7 separate regions of the Homo sapiens genome follow, and all the other regions are linked to region 7. The links are contacts of gene promoters, found by promoter capture Hi-C in blood cells and fetal thymus (Javierre and others, 2016). All regions are on one chromosome and are shown on one strand. The core of a region is centred on a gene start or on the middle of the fragment in contact, and the rest is flanking DNA. Distances in the headings are between cores, read along the strand shown. Region 1 overlaps GLIPR1L2 (GLIPR1 like 2). Region 2 overlaps CAPS2 (calcyphosine 2). Region 3 overlaps LOC105369850 (a long non-coding RNA gene). Region 4 holds the start of GLIPR1L2 (GLIPR1 like 2). Region 5 overlaps GLIPR1L1 (GLIPR1 like 1). Region 6 overlaps GLIPR1L1 (GLIPR1 like 1). Region 7 holds the start of PHLDA1 (pleckstrin homology like domain family A member 1).

Region 1 (2,960 bases), core at 397-2,896, 610 kb after region 7:
GAAAAGTGGGCAAAGGACATGAACAGACACTTCTCAAAAGAAGACATTTATGCATCCAACAAACAAGAAAAAAAGTTCATCATCACTGGTCATTAGAGAAATGCAAATCAAAACCACAATGAGATACCATCTCATGCCAGTTAGAACAGTGATCATTAAAAAGTCAGGAACCAACAGATGCTGGAGAGGATGTGGAGAAATAGGAACACTTTTACACTGTAGGTGGGAGTGTAAACTAGTTCAACCATTGTGGAAGACAGTGTGGGGATTCCTCAAGGATCTTGAACCAAAAATACTATTTGGCCCAGTAATCCCATTACTGGGTACATACCCAAAGAATTATAAATCATTCTACCATAAAGACACCTGCAAACATATGTTTATTGCAGCACTGTTCACAATAGCAAATACTTGGAACCAACCCAAATGCCCATCAATGATAGACTGGATAAAGAAAGTGTGGCACATATACACCATGGAATACTATGCAGCCATAAAAAAGGATGAGTTCATTTCCTTTTCAGGGACATGGATGAAGCTGCAAACCATCATTCTCAGCAAACTATCACAAGAACAGAAAACCAAACACTGCATGTTCTCACTCATAAGTGGGAGTTGAACAATGAGAACACATGGACACAGGGAGAAGAACATCACACACTGGGGCCTGTCAGGGGGTCAGGGCTAGGGGAGGAATAGCTTAGGAGAAATATCTAATGTAGATGATGGGTTCATGGGTGCAGCAAACCACCATGGCATGTATATACCTATGTAACAAACCTGCACGTTCTGCACAGGTACCCCAGAACTTAAAGTATAATAATTAAAAAACAACATAATATGCTATTTACTTATTATCCAAATTTATCTCCTACCATATTCCTCTAAGCATTGTATATTTTAGCTACAGTTATACTTTTGGAGTATATTCTCTCATGTTTGGAAAAACTAAAAGAAAAATGTAATCAAACATATTTTCTACTTTTTACTTTTGAAATATTTGGAGATTTCAGCTTTTTGGAGGAAAAACTAAAAGAAAAGGGTATTAAATATATGCTACTTCATAAATATTTTGGAATATACTATCCTTTAAAGCAGTTATTATCAAACAGGCTGCTGTTTGGGCATAAACTGTGAAGCTTTTTAAGGGTATAACTGTTAGTTCTCATTCTTTCTTTCTGACACTCTGGTATGTCCTCAGGGGAAGGAATAGGGTTAAGATAGAACAGAAAAAGCTCTGCAGTTTAGAAAAATCTAAAGATGATACTGTGTCAACCATCCTTTGATAACATAATAGTAGCATTCTGATCAAAGGAATAATATTAACATGACCATAAAAAACTAGTGTTCAATCGCTTATTTTTCTTGTCCAATCCATTATGCATTTTTTTCATGTTTATTTTCTTTATCTTACTGCATAGAAAATCTGTGCATTTGTCACGTCTGCCACATCGAGTACAAAATATTCCTGGTTCATAAGGTCTTCTCGTCAGTGTTCCTCTACAAACAAAAAAGCAGAAAACATTTAGTTAGAATAAGCTTCCATTTTTACATGTAATTTAAATAATATAGTTACTAATTTTTAATCAGGTTAAAAAGGCGGGTTAAGAAACTGGACTTAAGGAAATACTTTAATTAGAGATTCAATGTTTCCCTTTTGTTCTCCCCTAGGAAACGGTCTTTTCTGAAACGAATTCCCATGCCCTAGAAACAAAGTATTATAATTAAATATAAGAATCGGTTTTAAAGCTTCTTTCATTTTAGTTTATAGCAAAATGTATCCTTTAAAAATGAATGATGTAGACCGGGCGCGGTGGCTCATGCCCGTAATCCCAGCACTTTGGGAGGCTGAGGCAGGCAGATCACAATGTCAGGAGATCGAGACCATCCTGGCTAACACGGTGAAACCCTGTCTCTACCAAAAATACAAAAAATTAGCCAGGTGCGGTGGCAGGTGCCTGTAGTCCCAGCTACTCGGGAGGCTGAGGCAGGAGAATGGCGTGAACCCAGGAGGCGGAGCTTGCAGTAAGCTGAGATGGGCCACTGCACTCCAGCCTGGGCAACAGAGTGAGACTCTGTCTCAAAAAAAAAAAAAAAAGAATGATGTAGGCTGGGTGGGGTAGCTTCCCCACCTGTAATGCTGGTGCTTTGGGAGGCCAAGGTGGGATAATCTCTTGAGACCAGGAGTTCGAGACCAGCCTGGGTAACATAGCAAGACCTCGTCTCTTCAAAAAGATATATTTTTTTAATTAGCCGGGCATGGTGCGTGCCTGTAGTCCCAGCTACTCGGGATACTGAGGAGGGAGGATCAGTTGAGTCCAGGAGTTTGAGGCTGCAGTGAGCTGACTGTGCCACTGCACTCTAGCCTGGGCAACAGAGCAAGGCTCTGTCTCTAAAATAAATAAAGAAATAAAGAAATAAAATTTAAAAATAAATGATATAGAATTTTTTATAATTAATTGCTTCCTGGTTGGCCCAAATACATAAAAAGTTTCATAGAAATGATATATTAAGTATCTGTAGAGTTTACAAAATTCTGAAATGCTTGTGTCCCAAAGACTCATCTGCATCAATTATTTTGGGGGTATATATAAAAACACATAAATTTATAAAGAAGCAAATAAATATAAATGGGAGTTTACAAAGTTGATTTAACCCATTGTACAGAGCTAAAGAGAGAAGAAATAATTACATCAATTGCCTACAGCTAAATGAGAAAAAAGGCCCTAAAGTACTTTTAAATTGGGAAATTTAAATAAATGATCTAGGATAAGAAAGGTAGAAAAAACAAGTAGGGAAAAGATACATTTGAGTGGGGGCAGCATCATTAATCCTGGTAATTTAATCAGTATTGCCTATTTACCTGGTATATAATTGGGAGCTATAAAAACAAACATTCATTATTTAAGTCCTTGGTTAGGCCTTCTAGAAGAATGGCCAAGCCTAAGAAATATATATTC
Region 2 (3,250 bases), core at 435-2,934, 720 kb after region 7:
CAAAGGCAGCTCATGAAAATTCTGATGATTTTTACTGAAATTTAAGTGTATTATTTCTTAGAAAATAAATGATATTTGTAGATTAAATGATTGAAATTTAAATTTAGTAATGATGGAAAGTAATCTATAATCTATAATAGTAATCTATTTCCATCTATATCTAAGACGGAAATCAGAGATATTTAATTTATGTTTTAGAACTTTTGTGTTAAGTATTGTATGGTTCTGCTTTATGGATGGTGAAGTTGTCTTTATTTAATCTTCCCAGGAAATTGTGGCTGCAGAGAAGAAGAAACAGATTGTTGCAGAGCAAGTGATGATAGACCACTTATCTAGGTGAGAATTAGCAACTGGTAATAGAAATCAATTCAGAAAGTTTTCATTAAATTTATTTTCATGCATGACATTCATATCCTTGGTCAATTAAAGGGTGGCTAACTCAGAGGTTCCCAAACTTTCTCTGTTTACTGCACCGTTAGTGTTTTAGTCATTTTTTTTCACAGCACTCTTAGACGAATAGAAATACCTAACAGTTCTATTTGTTAAATATTTTTCTCTAAACAACTTAATAAATATTTATTTCCTAACAACTAATGACCATTTAAAAAAATAATACACATAAATTGAAAGAAGATATCCTTACTTTATTCTTACTAAGGATCTGTATGCATCTTATGGGCACTGCACAGTGTCTCAAATCCTAGAATCATTTACAATGCTGCCACTTTCACTTTATATTCCATATTGATTTTCACCTGATATTTGCTTTTTATCATAGCAACTATAGAAAACTCAGCTCTGCAAAGATGTAACATCATTGAAGGAGTATAGTGTGCTGTCTTGTTGAAACTGTGAACTACCCTGAGGCTGAACTAGTAGTTTACTTGATGTGCAAGTGATGTCAAGTATCACTGAGTTTCCCTCAAAAATTAAAAATATCCCATAGTACCCCTGTGAGTTCACTGTGGTACCTCAGGGTTCCTTGGTGCAGTTCAAGAACTGTGAGACTGTTAAGAATTTTAAAACCCCTTAGAAAACTAAAGTTTTAACATATGCAGTGCTGAATTGCTTGATAATATGGAACTATGCTAGAATTTCTGAAGAGGTTGGAATAATCTACTTCAAGGAAAAAGTAAGACTTAGCTTTGAAAAAACTGTTTAGTTGTGTGGCAGAAAGAATGCATGACAGAAATAATGGTGGCTGTTTCTACATGCATGTTTTTCAGTAAATTCTTTGAAATAATTATACCTAGAGTCTCCCATGTCCCTCCTTCCATTGTCTCATGAACTTAGTGTTTTCACCTCCACCATCCATGCCTCCAACAACTTTTTTCCATGAGTAGTGACATCCATATTGCTAGACTAATGATTTCTCAGTTCTCGTTTACTTGACCCATCTGCAGCAGTTGTCTCATTTGAAACCTTATTTTCTTTGAGGCAGGTTTTTTTTTTTTTTTTTGTTTTTTTTTTTGTTTTTTTTTTTCCTGCATGGCTTCCTGCACGTGACACGTGACTGTTCTCCTACCTTTCTCCCCTTCTCAGAATCTCTCCTGGTTCTTCTTCATCTTCCCTACGTGGGTGTGCCCAACAGCTCAGTTATTGGACCTCTTTTGTGTTTGCTTTTTAAGTGATCTCATCCAGTATCATGCCTTTAAAAACCAGCTATATTCTGATGCTTCTCTAAGATTTCAATTTAACTTTCTCCAATCTGGGTGTCTGAAATTTTATTGCCCTCTCTTCCTCCATGACCAAATCTTTAATTTTCCTCCATAGTAACTCAATTCTTCATGTTACTAAGACCTAAAATCCTGGTGATATTTTGATCCCTTTCTTTCTCTCAAATACTATATCCAGCTTGTCAACAAACATGCTCAGTCCTGCTATCAACATAGATTTACTCCCTCTGCTGCCACCATCCTGTTCAAACTTATTTTGTGTGTCTCCTGGATTATTTCAGGGACTGCTTAACTGGCCTCATTGTTTCTGCATTTGCCTCTTACTGGTTTATTTTCAACCCGGCACCCCGTAGTTAATCCATTAAAAGGCAAGCCAGATAAAACCTTCCAGGAATTTCTCATTTTAATCATAGTGAAGCCTACGAGGCTCACGTATTAATTATGTGTCACCACAAAACTCAGTAGCTTAAAAGAACAGTAATTTTTGCTCATGTGTCTTTAGGTTAGCTATCAAGGCTTGCCATGGCTGGAAGGGCCTTACTTTTTATTTTGACCAGTTGTATATGAGCAAAAGCAATGGTCTTAGGTTTGATCTTAGGCTTTAAATGATCTCATGTGTTTCCATTTGCCCTTTAGTGCTTCTGCTACCTTTGAGAGAAGAACACTGCTTGGCTAGCCTGGTAGTCTCAAGAAAAAGGTCCTTCTACAAATGCCACTGAGCTACTTAGCTGAAACCATCCTAGATAAACAGATTTCCAACCAATCCGCATTTGCATGACTTAGTTCAGTTGAGATTAGCAGAGTCGTATAACTGTGTGTAACTGACCAAAGCAAGTCAAAAGCTCAAGGTCAAGGGGTGAGAAAGTGCATACCACCTTTAATGAGGCCATAGCAAGGAAATGGATCAGGATTACTAAAAAATTCAGGCCAATAACACAGTCTATCCAAGCCCACCATTGGACCTTGGACCTTGGACTTCTCTCCCTCTTACCTATTCTCCTCTAGCCATTTGACTTATCCCTGTTCTGGAACATACCAGGTTCCATTCCTGTCTTAGGTACTTTGCATTTATTTTCCCCTCTTCTTGGAATGCCTTTTCCCCAGAAATTTATATGTCTGCTTACTCATTTTAGCTCATATCTTTACTTAGAAGTCACCTTGGTGAGGCCTACTTTGGCCTTACCATAAATAAACCATAAATACATTTAAATAAATAAATTGACCATAAATAAATTTATGATGCCTTTCTCAAAACTTTGTATCTTCTTACCATTTCTTTTTTTCTTCCATAGGGGCATGTAATTCATGTTGTATTTTCTCTGTTTATCATGTTAATTATCTTTCAGCCTCTTCAGAATGTGAGCTTCATGAGGGCAGAGCACTTTGGAAGTTTTGCTCACTATTACACTCCCATTGCCTAGTCTAGTAGCTGTATAGTAAAACTTGTTGAATAGGTAAATGAATGAATGAACTGGAAAAGAGGACTTAAATGCAGTCAGCAGAATTTGGTTTTAGGTTTAGCTATGTGACTAATTTGCTGTTTGAGGTTTCATATTTTCCTTCTCTATGTCTTG
Region 3 (3,366 bases), core at 3-2,502, 560 kb before region 7:
AGAGTTCAGACCCTTCAGAGATGATGATCTGGTTGCCCCCACCCAGTCAAGCAACACAGACTCCCTGAAATGGTAGCCAGGATGAGACAAACTAGAATAATCTTTTTCACATCCTTTCAGCCTACCTTTTATACCAACTATTGCTATGGCAACCAGTTTTGTGCAACTGTACCACATATTTATCATTTCAAAACCTGTGCTGCTCTGATGATATGGCATGGATGCCAATGAGAACCCACTCTGCGCTTAGGCATGTACAACCTGGAAGAGTAAAGAAGTTAACACTCTCTGGGACAATCTTTGACTGCACTTGTAATCTATTGCTGGATAACAAGTTACCAAATCTAGCAGCCTAAAACAATAACATGTATTATATCCCAGTTTCTGTGGTCAAGAGTACAGACACAGCTTATTTGGATTTTCTGCTTCCAGGTCTCTCCAGGCTAGAGTCAATGCATCAGGTGGGCTGTGTTCTCATTGGGAAGCTCATCTGCTCCCAAGCTCATATGGTTTGCCGAACGAATTTATTTCATTGAGGATATAGGACTGAAAGCTTCAGTGTGCTGGTTGGCTGTCAGCTGGAGGATGCCATTAGCTCCTAGAGTCCATTCAAGTTGCCTGCCATGTGGTCTACTCCATAGGCAGCAACATAGCAGTTTGCTTCTTCATGGCCAGCAGAAGAGTCTACTAGCAATATGAAGTCTTACATAACATAATGTTATCATAGGAATGCCATTCTGTCACCTTTGCCATATTCTATAAGTTAGATGCTTCACAGATTCCTCCCATATTCATGGGATGTAATTAACAGGGGCATTGATATCAGAAAGTGGGGGTCATTGGAGAATCAGCCTAGGTTCTGTCTGCCAGTCTTTCCTCAGGCCCTCCCATATGAAATATATGGTTTCTCCCCTTCCAAGGTTCCTGTATTAGTCCGTTTTCACACTGCTGATAAAGACATACCTGAGACTGGGAAGAAAAAGAGGTTTAATTGGACTTACATGGCTGGGGAGGCCTCAGAATCATGCTGAGAGGTGAAAGGTACTTCTTACATGGCGGCGGCAAGAGAAAATGAAGAAGATGCAGAAGTGGAAACCCCTGATAAAACCCCTGATAAAACCATCAGATATCGTGAGACTTATTTGCTACCATGAGAACAGTATGGGGGAACCTCCCCCATAATTCAAATTATCTCCCACCAGGGCCCCTCCCACAACCCATGGGAATTGTGGGAGTACAATTCAAGATGAGATTTGGGTGGGGACACAGAGACAAACCATATCAGTTCCCAAGAGTTTCATTCATTATAGCATCAGCTCAAATTCTAAAATTTCATCATGTGAATCAAGTCCAGGTGCAGATGAGCCTCCTACGTATAACCTGTTAAGTAAAGCTCCTGGACACAATTATTCTCTAACTATGGACCTCTGAAACCAAGGAAATGAGTTATCTGCCTCCAACACACCCAACATACAATGGTGGGACAGACACAGGATAATAGCTATAGACATTCCAGTTTAAAAATAGGGGAAATGGGTAGTAAAAAGGAGTCACTAGTCTATAGCAGTTTTGAAATACAACTGGATTTATTGGAAGTTCCTTAATTAAGTTTCTAGGCTTGGGAATGATTCTTCATGGCTCTTGGCTCTGCTTTCTGGGTTCTTGGTTCCACCATCTGAGTCATTCTTCCTTTTTCATGGAAGGTAGCATGTGTTTGCAGATGAGTAGTTTTATCAGCCTGCTTTCTGCCAGTAAAATTTTGGAGGTCTGACAGCCTCTTTTCATTTTCTAGTCTTTCTGTCTGTCTTATTCCAAGTTGGCACTGTTTCTGCAGAAATAATTTTCTCAAGAATGTTGTGGTTCTTTCTGTATTTCAGTGGCATTCACTCTTATCAGACAAAGGCCACATCTACAGATTGTTTCAAAAATAATTCCATCTCCTTTAAGCTTCCTAGAGGCTCAATAGTGTGATTGAGAGGATCTGAGGCATACCCTTAGATCTTTTCAAATCTAAGGGCCGTATCTTGAAATACCCCTGAGTACTCTGACCTTTGATCTTTTGGGGGCTTTAAAAAAGATTATAGAGTAACTTCAAGTGCATTTTCTCTAGAGTAGGCTTTTCTGACAGTGCCCAAAAGCCATCTCCAACTGTTAATATTTTTTGCCATCTGGGGAAGATGAGGATTTTTTAAATTATCAAGTCCTGATTCCTTTTTGCTTAATAGTTCTTCTCTCAATTTGTCTCTTTTCTTGAATTTTCCTGTAAGTAGCAAGAAGAAACCAGTTGTCCCCTTCAACACTTTGCTTGGAAATCTCCTTAACTATATAACCAAATTCATCCATTTACAAGTTCTGCTTTCAACGTAATTGCAAGAAATAATTTCACTAAGCTTTACGCCAGTACATAACAAGGATCTCCCTTCTTCCAGTTTCCTATAGCATGTTCCTTACTTCCTTCTGAGTCCTCAACAGCAGTCTTCAATATCCACATTTCTACTGAGAGTTTGTTCGCAGTGATTTGGGATTTGTCTATCATACTTTTCAAGCATTCTTCTAGTCTCTGTCCACTGATCAGTTTCAAAGCCACAGACATATTTTTACATATTTATTACAGTAGCATTCTACCTCTAGGCACCAAAATCTCTATTAGTTTTCCAATTCGATGTAACAAATTAACACAAGTTGAACACATTAAAATAACACACATTTACTATCTCTCTTTCTGTAGGTCAGGAGTCCAGATACACCTTAGTTGGGTTTTCTACTTTGGGGTCTCTCCAGGCTACAGTGAAGGTGTTGGTTGGACCATGTTCCCATCTGAAAGCCTGAAGAAAGAAGAATCTTCTTCCAAACTCTCTCAAGTTGTTGGGAGAATTCATTTCCTTACAGTCACAGGACTGAGAGCTTCAAGATTTTGTTTTGTTTTGTTTCTGTTGGCTCTCAGCTTCTACAAGCCACCTCTGAGTTCTTTGCCACATGGTCCTCTCCGATAGGCAGTTCATAACATGACAACTTGTTTCTTCAAGACCAGCAGGAAAGTGAGAGAGTGAGTCGGCTATCAAGACAGATTCTTACATAATATAACATAATCATGGGAGTGATATCCCATCACATTTGTCATATATTGTAATGCATGTATTACATTACATCATGGGAGTAACATCCTATCACCTTTGCCTTATTCTTCTGGCTGGAAGCAGTTCACAAGTTCTACCCAGTCTTACGGTGAGGGGCATAAAGAAGGTCATTAATACCAGAAGGCAGAGATCATTGGGGGTTACCTTAGGATATGTCTGCCACATTGGGGGAAGGCAGACAATTCTAGGTAGCTATTCAAAGATCCAGAGAAATGAGCCTGAGTTACCT
Region 4 (3,373 bases), core at 164-2,663, 640 kb after region 7:
TATAAGACAGCATATAATCTGACATGGAAATGCTGACAATATAAAAGGTAAAGGAAATGACGAAGAAAGAACTCAAGTATGTCCTATCAAAATAGTATTTTAAAATCAACATTAAAACAAATGACCATTTTTGTAATTTATTCATTTAGCAAGTAATTGAACATGTCCAAATCAGTGAGGATGTGGTGAAAACAGAACAGCTGGTATTTGCTAAATTTGGCACTACCCTTTAGCATAGCAATTGCTATGTGTTAAATTAATAAAAAATATCATACCCTTAATTTATTTATCCCATTTCTGAAATTTGTGCTAAGAACTAATGCTGAAGGAAGAAAAGACATGTCTAGGAAAGTAGTCCTTGCAATATAATTTATAAGTTTGAAGCTTCTAATTCCCTAAGAGGACAGTTATTTATTTGCCGGATTTTCAGTCATTTTAATGACAGTCAGGAAAACTCAATAGCAACCAGGGAATAGTTGAGTTGTTAAATGACTATAGGGTGTAAAAGAGGGGGAAAGCAAGAACCGCATTGTAAGGTAAGGCAAAATCAGGGTCAAGACTAGGGTGAGGAAACTGAGACACTTCCTTAGGAGCCAAATTTGGAATGGGCACAAAAAAAAAAAATCAAGATAACAAACATTTTTAAAAGGCAAAGCTAATGTGACATCGATGATGGAAAAAGCTAAAAATAAAAATTTCAAATACAAACAGAATCTCATCTTGATTTGCACCACCCTGAGAGTGTCGCACTTGTTTTTCCCTAATCCAGACCCAAGGAACCTGTCTTTGTTAAATTTTTTAACATTTTCTTTACCCTTGATATTGATATTTTTGCACTGATTTTTAATTTTTAAAAACCCGTTGCATTAAAATATCATTTTCTTGAATTGGCGCCCCCTTAAAATCTGCACTTCAGGCCAGTGCCTCCATCACCTTAGTCCTGGCCCTGTGTAATATCATGGTAATAAGCATGTGTTAGAGTGTCCGCAGTTTTTCTCTGTGTAAACTTCACGTGTACTTTAAAAACCAAGCTAAAAGTGCGGTTCTCCGCGATCCTTCAGCCTCAGAGCAGTGGCCCCAACTACCCGAGATCCAGGGAGGCGTTGTGGCAACGGTAGTGGAAGGGTCGGCAAACCGCCTTCCGGCCTCACCATGAAGCGCAAGTTAGACCCTCGGGGAATGACGTCGCCCCGCAGCTCATTGTGGAGGTTCACGTACTCGTTGATAAAGTCTACGTCCTCCTCGTCTGGCAAAAATCTGGCGTTCAAACTAGAACCCAGTAGCAGTAGCCACAGCTCACAGAGCCGCAGCTTCAAAACGCCCCCTACTGCCAGGGGTAGGGACTGGGCCCTCCACTCCCGGGCGAAGGGCCTTGCGGCCTCCATGGTCCACCGGCCGCTGACAGGCCAGTGCGCACGCGCTGGCCGTCCCAGTGACCTGCCAATCTACGGAGGACGCAAGCAAGCCTTGTCCCGCCTCCCGGAAGGAGAAAGGGAGGAGGGAGGAGGGAAAAACAAAGGAGGGAGGAGGGGGTAAGGAGGAGGGAGGAGAGAAGAGGGAGGGGAGAGTGGGTAGGGGAGGGGGAGAGGAGGGGAAAGCTAGACCTGCAGAGTGAAGAAAGCTGGTAATAGATGTCTGACAAACTAAAGAAAGACTTGTGTTACGTGAGTAAGCCCTTTTCACTAAACTAATGTAGTGAAATGTTATCCCGAATTGATTTCTGACACTGAATGATATGTCGTTATTAATGAGTCATCAGTTTGTATGGTAAATGCCAATTGCTGAGTAACAGGTCTGAGGAACCTTCTAATTGTGCCAGGTGAAATGATTTTTCTGCGATACAGATACAAATTCAATTAAATTTTTTTTCCCCATTACCTGTTGAGTTGGAAATTTGGTGCAGGGCCTGCCTTTTATTTTCCTCAGGGACAGAATGGAATACAGAAATATTGCTAGTTCTTAAGGCCAAAGAAGTTCTTAAGGCCAACTTAATTGATGAGATTTTTTTCAGTTTTTAAATGAACCTTTGTGGGAAACCACAAAATAAATGGGAGTGAAGGGAGAGTAGGGATCACCAAACTCTTCAAAGGTTAAAACATTTCTACTTCTTCTCTCATCAGCACAATTCAGACAGCCCGGAATATCAAGATTCATCTTTTTCACTAATTGTGGCATTCACAGTAAGAACGAACTCTTTTGTTTTCTTTTTTTGTTCCAGACAAAATTGGCTAATATCTAGCTGATTTTGGTCTGATCTGTTTACCTCCAAACATTTTCCTCAAAAACAAAACAAAACAAAACCAACTTGCTTTGAAGACTTTAAATTCTAAGCATGGAAAAAAAGCAAGTATTAGTTTTGGAATACACGTTTGCATATTACATATTGTGCTTAATAGCATTAAGCAGATATGGAAAATTGACATTGGGAGAGAATTTTACTACAAAACATTGTAACAGGTTAGCCAAACATTTATAAAAAGAAAAGTGCTTTTAAAAATTGTCTGTGATGCACACAATTGAAAAACAATAGACCTATGTAAGATGGTTTCATTTATGCCCTTGAATACTTACTACTATGACTGCATAGTAGTAAGTTTTAAGTGATTGAGAAAGATCAGTAGACAAGACACAGATCCAGCTTTCAAGCAGCTTACAATTTAGTGAATTAGCAATCAGGCAGTATTTAAAACGTGATAAATACAAAGCCAAAATTCTATTGCTTGGTACTCTTGTGGAGGAGCAGGGAAGCCTTTCTGGAAATTGTATACAGAAAGTGAAACAGACAAGTCTAAGATAGCATTCTAAACAAAGGGAAAAGCATGTAATGTGCCTAAGGAGAGGAAGATCCTAAACGCTAGAAGTATTTTAGTATGGCTAGAACCTATTTAAGGGTGAAGGTGGCAAGTGCTGAAAGATGCAATTCTTTTATTATGGTGGTACTGTTGTTAGACTGCAAAAAATGCTAAAGAAAAAGTATAAATAGAATAATGCAATCTTAGATTTGGAAGAAATTTTAGCCACTATTGCTAGCCTCCTGTGTTAGGTATACTCTCCGGAACATCACTGACAGGTGATCATCACATCCTTTTCTTAAATAATTAGACCAACAGGGAAGCCCATTCCACTGCTAGACATCTCATTCAATAAATATTTCCTTGGTACTTCCTGTGTGTCACAGCCCAGCTAAAGGCTCAAATGCTGAACAAGCTAGACATGGAGTCTATCCACAGGGAGCTTTTAATTAAAGGTGACACAGATGAATCATCAAACAGTTACAATACAGAGTGGTGAATACTATTTTTAATCTATTTCACAAATATTTAATGTGTCAGGCACTATTTAAAATGCTTGGACAATATCAACTCACTCAAGT
Region 5 (2,934 bases), core at 264-2,763, 660 kb after region 7:
GGTTGGGCGTGGTGGCTCACACCTGTAATTCCAGCACTTTGGGAAGCTGAGGCAGGTGGATCACCTGAGGTCAGGACTTTAAGACCAGCCTGGCCAACATGGTGAAACCCCATCTACTAAAAATACAAAAATTAGCTGGGTGCAGTGATGGGCACCTGTAATCCCAGCTACTCGGAAGGCTGAGGCAGGAGAATTACTTGAACCCAGCAGGCGGAGGTTGCAGTGAGCCAAGATCGTGCCACTGCACTCCAGCCTGGGCGACAGAGACTCCGTCTCAAAAAAGAAACAACAAACAAACAAACAAAAAAGATGAAATCAACCTACTACTCCTTAATGGAGGTAAGGAAGAGTATGTATGGAATACAGGAGACTCCATAGAGCGTTTCTTAGTTTTGCCATGCCTGTGATTAAGGTCAATGGGAAACTAACAACAGGTAGTCATAAATACAACCACGTGACCAGTTGCAGAAACGAGGACTGTAATTGTCATAAGTATTTTCTCCTTATTTTGTTAAGAATATGTTTGTGCATGTATACACTTGTACTAAGAAAGTATCTTCATTTTATTCCCTCTATTTTTCCTTTATCATGTGACATAAGATTTACTGACTTCATTTAGACATTTAAGTGTTCTTAACTTTATGTAATAACATTTAGGTTAATGATTAGAGCACTTCCGGTTGTACAAAGGATAGCTGTATTATATTAGACATAATTATAACCTTATTATTGTCTTTATTTGGAGATTATATATGATTTCAGGAGATGTGTATTTTTCAAGTAGACAAGGGGTGGACTTGTGATGGTTAATATTGTCAACTTTATTGAAGGATGCAAAGTATTGTTCCTGGGTGTGTCTGTGAGAGTATTGCCAAAGGAGAGCAGTGAACTGGGAAAAGCAGACCCACCTCAATGTGGGTGGGCAACATCCAATCGGCTGCCAGCTAGAATAAACCAGGCAGGAGAAGATGGAAGAGCCGACTTGCTGAATCTTCCAGCCTTCATCTTTCTCGTGTGCTGGATGCTTCCTGCCCTCAAACATCAGACTCCAGGTTCTTCGTCTTTTGGACTCTCGGATTTACATCAGTGGTTTACCAGGTGCTCTCAGGCCTTCAGCCACACACTGAAGGCTGAATTGTCGGCTTCCCGACTTTTGAGATTTTGAAACTTGGACTGAGCTACTGCTGGCTTCCTTGCTTCTCAACTTACAGATGGGACTTCACCTATAGATCATGTGAGTCAATTCTCCTTAATAAATTCTCATTTATACATGCATATAACCTAGTAGTTCTGTCCCTTTAGAGAGCCCTAATGCAATAGCTGAGGGAAGCTGGAGCTTGCCTTAGTTGAGAAGAAAAACATCCAGATAATTTACTCCACAGGAGTCAACAATTCAGCATTGATGATTTTGAAAACTGAATTTATTAAATATTATGTTTTTTTCCTTCAGAAAAAAGAAATGCCAGTACTGAATAATTATCTGGTTTGTAGAAATGTTGTTACCTATACTAATTTTATATGGCTTTTAAAAGATATGCTGTTAGCATCCTGTTATTTTCTGTGGGGCATATTTAAAAATAAATCTCCTAGAAGAGTGCAACTTTAATTTGCAGAACATATATTTACTTTTTAAAGGTTGAAAATTTAGTTAATTTAACTTTTTGAGTTTAATTCATTGATTTATTCCCCAACCATTGATTATGGCCATAATGTATAACATTACATGCTATCTGAAAAAACTTTCCTCAGTAACATTTTGTTTCTGAATGATGTTGATGGTATTCATAAAGGAAACTATTGGTATCTAAGGAAACTATTTGATATGTGAAAAGTCTTTAGTTCTCTAAATGTACTATAACTAAAATGATAATCCATTCTCATTAGAAAATTAAAGAGTGGAACACTTTTGATACACATATGGATTTGTAATTAAAAAATAATCTTAAGACTTTATTCTACTGCTATCCATTTTCCATACTACAGTACATTTTTTGAGTTAAAAACAAACATTAAATTTAGGTATCAGGCAAGAGTGTAGAAGATTCAGTAAAGAAGCAAAGTGATGATAAGTTATATTAAGCAATAAACTATTCCTTTATTTTAACATTTGAGAATTTCTTTTGTATATAAATGACATTAAAAGATTCTCAGAAGAAGAAAACCTAAGCTGAATGGATTAAAGGCTGTCTGCTGAGGTGCTCTCCCCGTTGGCTTCAGAAATGGATTTTCTGTCAAAAACAAAAACAAAACCAGAATAGTTAAGAGTTCAATTGATTTTCAACGGGAGGAAATAATTTAATTAATACTAAAATATTTTGATACATACGGTTAGGTATAATAAGTTGTGGAGTCCCTAAAGTAAAAATTAAAGTTAATATTATAAAATGTTATAAAACAAGAAAACATATTTCTTTGCTTTTATGGCTTTTAGAATAAGACAATCAACTAACAAAAATTAGTTTGACTTTTTAACAAGAAAATGAAACTTTCCTACTCAATCCTACAGTACTTAAAACTCTTTACGATGCTTCCTACCAACAGTGTTATGTCAACAAATATTTCTAAAACACCTCTGAGTGTTGAAGGCACAAAAGTCAAAACCAGAAAAAGCTATAAAGTAGTTAACTTTATTTTTCCCACTCTTTCATTCCCAATTCACGTCCCTGAAGAAACGTAATTTCTTCATGTTGAATTTTTTGTATGCAGAACTCATTAACAATCTCATTCATTTCTGTAATGGTCCTTACTCCAAATATTTCTCGATGTCTTTTCCACATCAAACTTTCCTCCCCAGTTTACCATTCTAATAGCATCCAGCACTTCATTAGGAAATAATCTACTTAAAAAAATAATTAATTAATTTTTTTGACCTTCTACTACGTATTCAGCATGATTCTAGCTTTGGATATAATGGTTACCAGCAAAAAATAAAAT
Region 6 (3,147 bases), core at 384-2,883, 680 kb after region 7:
TGTTAATATTCTGTCTCTGTCATCTGGCTAATATTGACAGTGGGGTGTTAAAATCTTCCACTATTATTGTGTGGGAGTCTAAGTCACTTTGTAGGTCTCTAAGAACTTGTTTTATGAATCTGGGTGCTCCTGTATTGGGTGCATATATATTTAGGACAGTTAGCTCTTCTTGTTGAATTGATTACTTTACCATTATGTAATGCCCTTCTTTGTCTTTTTTGATCTTTGTTGGTTTAAAGTTTGTTTTATCAGAAACTAGGATTTCAACCTCTGCTTTTTTCTGTTTTCCATTTGCTTGGTAAATTTTCCTCCATCCCTTTGAGTCTATGTATGTCTTTGCATGTGAGATGGGTCTCTTGAATGCAGCTCACTGATGGATGTTGGCTCTTTATCCAGCTTACCATTCTGTGCCTTTTATATGGGGCCTTTAGGCCATTTACATTTAACGTTAGTATAGTTATATGTGAATTTGATCCTGTCATCATGATGCTAGCTGGTTATTTTGCAGACTGATTTATATAGTTGCTTCATAGTGTTGTTGGTTTGTGTACTTCAGCATGTTTTTTGTAGTGACTGGTAACCATTTTTCCTTTCCATATTTAGTGCTTCCTTCAGGAGCTCTTGCAAGGCAGGCCTGGTGGTGATGAATTCCCTCAGCATTTGCTTGTCTGAAAAAAAATCTCATTTCTCCTTCGCTTATGATGTTGTTTGGCTGGATATGAAATTCTAGACTGAAAATTTTTTTCTTTAAGAATGTTAAATATTGGGCCAGCACGATGGCTCATGCCTGTAATCCCAGCACTTTGGGAGGCCAAGGAGGGTGGATCACCTGAGGTCAGGAGTTCGAGACCAGGCTGGCCAACATGGCAAAACCCCGTCTGTACTAAAAATACAAAAATTAGCTGGGTGTGGTGGGGAGCGCCTCTAATCCCAGCTACTCAGGAGGCTGAGGCAGGAGAATCACTTGAACCTGGGAGGTGGAGGTGGTAGTAAGTCAAGATCACACCAGTACACTCCACCTTGGGTGACAGAGTGGGACTCCATCTCAAAAAAAAAAAAAACAAAACAAAACAGAGTGTTAAATATTGTTCCCAATCTCTTCTGGTTTTTAGGATTTCTGCTGAGAGGTCTGCTGTTAGTCTGATGGGCTTCCCTTTGTAGGTGGCCTGGCCTTTCTCTCTGGCTGCCCTTAACATTGTCTCCTTCACTTTGACCTTGGAGAATCTGATGATTATGTGTCTTGGGGTTGATCTTCTCATGGAGTATCTTACGGGGGTTCTCTGGATTTCCTGAATTTGAATGTTGACCTTTCTTGCTAGGTTGAGGAAGTTCTCCTGGATGATATCCTGAAGTGTGTTTTCCAACTCAGTTCTTTCTCCCCATTTATTTCAGGTACCCCAATCAGTCATAGGTTCAATCTTACATAATCTCATAGTTCTCACAGGTTTTGTTTGTTCCTTTTTTCTCTAATCTTGTCTGCCTGCCTTATTTCAGCAAGATAGTCTTCAAGCTCTGATATCCTTTCTTCCACTTGGTCTGTTTGGATATTGATACTTGTGATTGCATTGTGAAGTTCTTGTGTTGTGTTTTACAGCTCCATCAGTTCATTTATGTTCCTCTCTAAACTGGTTATTCTGGTTAACAGCTCCTGTAATATTTTATCATGGTTCTTAGCTTCTTCGCAATGTGTTAGAATATACTCCTTTAGCTCAGTGAAGTTCATTATTATGCATCTTCTGAACCCTATTTTTGTCAATTCGTCCATCTCAGCCTCATCCCAGTTCTGTGCCCTTGCTGGAGATGTGTTGTGATCATTTGCAGCTGAAGAGACACTCTGGCTTTTTGAGTTTTCAGCATTTTTGCGTTGATTCTTTCTCATCTTCAAGGGTTTATCTACCTTTGATCTTTGAATCTGCTGACCTTTGGATGGGGTTTTTGTGGTCTTTTTTTATTGATGCTGTTGTTGCTTTCTGTTTGTTCTTTTAGCAGTAAGGCCCCTTTTCTGTAGGGCTGCTGTGGTTTCCTGGGGGCCTACTCCAGACCCTGTTCACCTGGGTCCCTCTGACACCTGGAAGTATCACCAGTGGAGGTGGCAGAACAGCAAAGATGGCAGCCTGATCTTTCCACTGGGCATTCTGTCCCAGAGGGGCATTGACCTGATGCCCGCCAGAATGCTCCTGTATGCAGTGCCTGGAGACCCCTGTTGGGAGATCTCACCCAGTCAGGGGAAATAGGATAAAGGACCCACTTAAATAAGCAGGAATTTCCCTTGTCCAGACTACCCAGACTCCTCAGAGCTTGCCATCAGAAAAGGATAAGATTGCAGTCCATGATACTGTGGCTGCCCCTCCTCCTAGGGGCTCCTCTCAGGGAAATCAGAGATCTGTCCATAAACCCCTGGCTGGGGGTGCTGAAAATCCCTCAGGTAGGCCCTGCCTGGCAAGAAGGAATGTGTCAGGGTCTCGCTTAAAGAAGCAGTCTGGCCACAAACTGTCACAGTGGCTGTGCTGTGCTGTGGGGAATTTCTCCTGGTCCAAACCAGTCAGTCTTGCTGGCACCAGCAGCAGGGGAAAATGGCCAACTGGAGCCACAGTGGTGGTGGGCACCCCTCCCTCCCGGGACCCGGTCTTCTTAGGCAGTCTCCAGCCTGCCCCGCTGGCCAGCAGGGAGTCCAATGTAAGGAAATCAATTTCCACTAAAAGTTGTATTGCAGCTGATACACTTTTTATCTTTTTGGATATTTTTTCCTCTATGGATTCTATCTTGGATAATTTTTTTCTTTTCTTTTTTTAAAGAGATAGGGTCTTGCTCTGTTTCTCAAGGCAATCATGGCTCACTGCAGTCTTGAACTCCTGAATCACTGTCTTGGATAATTTCTAATGTTATGATTTTGAATTCATTAATCTTTTTTTCTGGAATGTCTAATATTTCATTAATTTTAACTTCTAAAAAATCTCAGACATTGTAGTCCTCTGTTTTTAATATTTTTCATATCTTTGCTTAACATTTAAAAATATAGAGTACAGTTATAATAACCATTTTAATGTCTTTCTCTTTTAATTATAACATCTGTGTAAGTTCTGCATTCATTTCAACTTATTGATTCAGCTTCTTCTTATGTCTTATTTTTTTCCTTCTTTATATGGC
Region 7 (3,228 bases), core at 729-3,228:
CCAATCTACGGGATCCTTACACTACTGATATTTTCAATAATGCACCGTAGTCAGACATTGTAGACTTAACCTCTGAGCTGCTCACAAAATTACTAAATCATTCTGAAATACGTAACTGCAAATTCTGGGCTTTAAAGTCTCTAGTTAAATGGGTGATTTTGAAAATTGGTGGCTGTTCAGACATTTTCAAATGAGAATAGAATGCATTTGTTTCAGACTGATAAACTGCAGAAGGTTAGATAACACCAAACACATTTGAGTTTCTCCTAAGAAAATGACTTGGGCCTCCAGATTACATCTCATTTTTTTTTTTTTTACCCTATCAAGTTTGTTTTTCCATATGAAATGTCTTTCCCAACTACACCTGCCCTTGGAGACTGTGAATAACAGACTTAAAGGAAGTATCCTTTCCAGATGAGCTGAAGAATGTCATCCTCTTAAAAGAATGAACAGCTGGTCATGTAGAAATTCTCTGGAATGCTCACTTGTCCTACAAAGGCAGGGGAGCAGAAAACATGTAGTTTTTTTGTTATTGGTATACATAATTGTAAATCTTCGAGATAATTTTACTAGAAGTCCACATAATTTTAATAATTGCCTTTCTCCTGAAAAGATTGCTAATAAATTAACAATGTGAAGGCTAGAAAGCTGGCCAAGCATAATCCGGTGGGACTCAGGATTGCTGGCTGGATTGTCCCGTTTGATCAGACATTGTTTCTTAGATGAATATTCAGGACGCCCTCGTGTATAAAAGTTGTCCTTTGTTCTGACTACCTTGGTATTAAGTTCGAATTTCTTACCATGACACACAAAGGATTCGATTCTTGCTTAGCTCTCTAAGCTCCTCTCACTTTCTCTTCCCCTCTTGAATTCTTTGCTCTTGCCACACAACTAGCAGATGAACTAATCTATCTGTTCCAACGTGGGCACAGTAGCAGCCGTAACTCTTACCTTGGCCCACTCTGACTTGTCCAGCCCTGGTTGAATTCTTCGTATCCCCGTGAGGGTCCGCACGTAGTTGGGGCTGTTTACTAAACGGATGAACTTCCCTACCGGGAGGCTAGGTCTCGGTTATGCCTTACTTCCCAGGAAGCGGCTTCTATAGGCATTGTTTAAATGTAGGAGTAGGAGGGAGCTGGGGGTATTGCATTCCCCAGGTCACAGATAAATGAGATTCCAAAACCAAGATCTGGCTAGGCCTTGGAAAGAGGGACCTGCGAGGCCGACCAGACGTTTGGAACTGCGCCTTGCAGTGTGGGATCTCAGCACCGGATATTACCCCGGTTTGTAGAGAGTTGAGTTACTGTTTTAAGAGACGTTGCAAACCGTACGGGTCAAGAAGAAAGCCGAAGACGGGTTAGCGCCTGCGGTCGGGGTCGAGAAAAGCAGGCGAGATGCGACCTGACGTGGGTCCGCCTCTCTCCACCCGTGGCAAGCCCGACAGTCGCACTATTGCTTTAACAATCGCCCTCTTTCCAAGAAGAGCTACTTAGTGACCGTGAGCGAATATGCGTGGGAAGACACGATGTCCTCTCGGCCTCTGTGCGCTCAGTTGTTTACCTAGGCGTCCGGGGGAGGCACACTCGCGGGACTCGCGGGACTCGGCCCCGGCCTCCCAGCTCGCCCAGGACACGACGCTGGTTCTGCGGGCTCTCGGAGCCCAGCGCGAATCCCCCGGGCTAATTCCCAAGAACCGAGAGGCAGCACTGCCTGGAGGCTGCCCCCGCCTCCGCGCCCCCGTCCTCACTTTCTGAGGCTGTTAGCAGAGAGTCCCGCGGGCCGGGGAGAAGCGGGACGCGGGGGATGGCCTCGCAGCGCCCTGTGAGCGTCGGCAGTAGTCAGGCAGCCAGGGCTCCTTGGGCGATCGCCCTGGGTAGAGGAGAGGAGTTTCCGGGGCTCGGGTCCGGGTCGCCTTCCAGGGGAACGAGCGCGGAAGCAAGTGGGCGGCGAGAGGCGGAGCAAGAGACGCTGGAGGGCGTGGACGCAGCGGGCTTTGGAAAGGCCCCAAGTTAATGAGGCGTGCGCCGGCTGCCGAGCGCCTCTTGGAGCTGGGCTTTCCCCCGCGGTGCGGGCGCCAGGAGCCGCCTTTTCCGCTGGGTGTCACTCGGGGGTGGGGAAGATGGCCCATTCAAAAGCGCCGCGAGGGGGCCCGGCCAGTGCCCTTCAGTGAGCGCTCGCAAGAGGACGGCAGAGGCCCGGCAGCTCGGAGCTCCGGGACCTTGTGGCGCATCAGGACGCGGCTGTCCCTCTGCCGGGACCCAGAGCCGCCGCCGCCGCTCTGCCTCCTGCGTGTTAGCCTCCTCTGCGCGCTCCGGGCAGGCGGCCGTGGGAGCCGCTGGGGCGAGGACGGCGCGAGGCTGCTGCTGCTGCCCCCGGCCCGCGCGGCTGGAAACGGAGAGGCCGAGCCAAGCGGCGGCCCCTCTTATGCTGGGAGGATGCTGGAGAGTAGCGGCTGCAAAGCGCTGAAGGAGGGCGTGCTGGAGAAGCGCAGCGACGGGTTGTTGCAGCTCTGGAAGAAAAAGTGTTGCATCCTCACCGAGGAAGGGCTGCTGCTTATCCCGCCCAAGCAGCTGCAACACCAGCAGCAGCAGCAGCAACAGCAGCAGCAGCAGCAGCAACAACAGCCCGGGCAGGGGCCGGCCGAGCCGTCCCAACCCAGTGGCCCCGCTGTCGCCAGCCTCGAGCCGCCGGTCAAGCTCAAGGAACTGCACTTCTCCAACATGAAGACCGTGGACTGTGTGGAGCGCAAGGGCAAGTACATGTACTTCACTGTGGTGATGGCAGAGGGCAAGGAGATCGACTTTCGGTGCCCGCAAGACCAGGGCTGGAACGCCGAGATCACGCTGCAGATGGTGCAGTACAAGAATCGTCAGGCCATCCTGGCGGTCAAATCCACGCGGCAGAAGCAGCAGCACCTGGTCCAGCAGCAGCCCCCCTCGCAGCCGCAGCCGCAGCCGCAGCTCCAGCCCCAACCCCAGCCTCAGCCTCAGCCGCAACCCCAGCCCCAATCACAACCCCAGCCTCAGCCCCAACCCAAGCCTCAGCCCCAGCAGCTCCACCCGTATCCGCATCCACATCCACATCCACACTCTCATCCTCACTCGCACCCACACCCTCACCCGCACCCGCATCCGCACCAAATACCGCACCCACACCCACAGCCGCACTCGCAGCCGCACGGGCACCGGCTTCTCCGCAGCACCTCCAACTCTGCCTGAAAGGGGCAGC

Evidence for each region. The method cuts DNA at HindIII sites, captures the fragments that hold promoters and counts their contacts. A CHiCAGO score of 5 or more calls a contact.
Region 1: a fragment that was not itself captured here is called in contact with the fragment with the promoter of PHLDA1 in region 7 in 1 of 17 cell types (total B cells); the score reaches 6.4 in total B cells.
Region 2: a fragment that was not itself captured here is called in contact with the fragment with the promoter of PHLDA1 in region 7 in 1 of 17 cell types (neutrophils); the score reaches 7.6 in neutrophils.
Region 3: a contact is called between a fragment that was not itself captured here and the fragment with the promoter of PHLDA1 in region 7, in 1 of 17 cell types (naive B cells). The highest score is 5.4, in naive B cells.
Region 4: the fragment with the promoter of GLIPR1L2 here is called in contact with the fragment with the promoter of PHLDA1 in region 7 in 12 of 17 cell types (naive CD4 T cells, naive B cells, neutrophils and 9 more); the score reaches 10.2 in naive CD4 T cells.
Region 5: a fragment that was not itself captured here is called in contact with the fragment with the promoter of PHLDA1 in region 7 in 1 of 17 cell types (neutrophils); the score reaches 5.1 in neutrophils.
Region 6: a contact is called between a fragment that was not itself captured here and the fragment with the promoter of PHLDA1 in region 7, in 1 of 17 cell types (neutrophils). The highest score is 6.3, in neutrophils.

The regions. Positions count from the first base shown.
Region 1 is chr12:75,421,444-75,424,403 of GRCh38, reverse strand. It overlaps GLIPR1L2 (GLIPR1 like 2), which reads right to left. Exons shown (of 6, transcript NM_001270396.2): 4 at 1,415-1,500. Among named protein-coding and RNA genes, the nearest start is that of GLIPR1L2, 32 kb to the right of the region's middle. The HindIII fragment of the contact is 210 bases long and covers 1,542-1,751 here.
Region 2 is chr12:75,309,934-75,313,183 of GRCh38, reverse strand. It overlaps CAPS2 (calcyphosine 2), which reads left to right. Exons shown (of 17, transcript NM_001355024.4): 7 at 269-336. Among named protein-coding and RNA genes, the nearest start is that of CAPS2, 19 kb to the left of the region's middle. The HindIII fragment of the contact is 3,626 bases long and covers 1-3,250 here.
Region 3 is chr12:76,590,034-76,593,399 of GRCh38, reverse strand. The region is part of intron 3 of LOC105369850 (a long non-coding RNA gene); the gene reads right to left. Among named protein-coding and RNA genes, the nearest start is that of OSBPL8, 32 kb to the right of the region's middle. The HindIII fragment of the contact is 1,394 bases long and covers 556-1,949 here.
Region 4 is chr12:75,389,129-75,392,501 of GRCh38, reverse strand. It overlaps GLIPR1L2 (GLIPR1 like 2), which reads right to left and starts at 1,413. Exons shown (of 6, transcript NM_001270396.2): 1 at 1,152-1,413. The coding sequence starts at 1,385. It also overlaps a transcript of CAPS2 not described here. RefSeq lists an enhancer at 1,352-1,481 and a silencer at 1,439-1,611. The HindIII fragment of the contact is 6,589 bases long and covers 387-3,373 here.
Region 5 is chr12:75,369,379-75,372,312 of GRCh38, reverse strand. It overlaps GLIPR1L1 (GLIPR1 like 1), which reads right to left. Exons shown (of 6, transcript NM_001304964.2): 5 at 2,327-2,353; 6 at 1,753-2,228. The coding sequence ends at 2,137. It also overlaps a transcript of CAPS2 not described here. Among named protein-coding and RNA genes, the nearest start is that of GLIPR1L2, 20 kb to the left of the region's middle. The HindIII fragment of the contact is 6,828 bases long and covers 1-2,934 here.
Region 6 is chr12:75,349,465-75,352,611 of GRCh38, reverse strand. All of the region lies in intron 3 of GLIPR1L1 (GLIPR1 like 1), which reads right to left. It also overlaps a transcript of CAPS2 not described here. Among named protein-coding and RNA genes, the nearest start is that of GLIPR1L1, 16 kb to the right of the region's middle. The HindIII fragment of the contact is 5,603 bases long and covers 1-3,147 here.
Region 7 is chr12:76,030,526-76,033,753 of GRCh38, reverse strand. It overlaps PHLDA1 (pleckstrin homology like domain family A member 1), which reads left to right and starts at 1,978. Exons shown (of 2, transcript NM_007350.3): 1 at 1,978-3,228. The coding sequence starts at 2,013. The coding sequence ends at 3,218. It overlaps PHLDA1-AS1 (PHLDA1 antisense RNA 1), which reads right to left. Exons shown (of 2, transcript NR_186034.1): 1 at 3,160-3,228; 2 at 2,376-2,843. It overlaps PHLDA1-DT (PHLDA1 divergent transcript), which reads right to left and starts at 1,941. Exons shown (of 2, transcript NR_185978.1): 1 at 952-1,941; 2 at 1-490. RefSeq lists an enhancer at 1,823-2,072 and a silencer at 2,293-2,442. The HindIII fragment of the contact is 8,299 bases long and covers 1-3,228 here.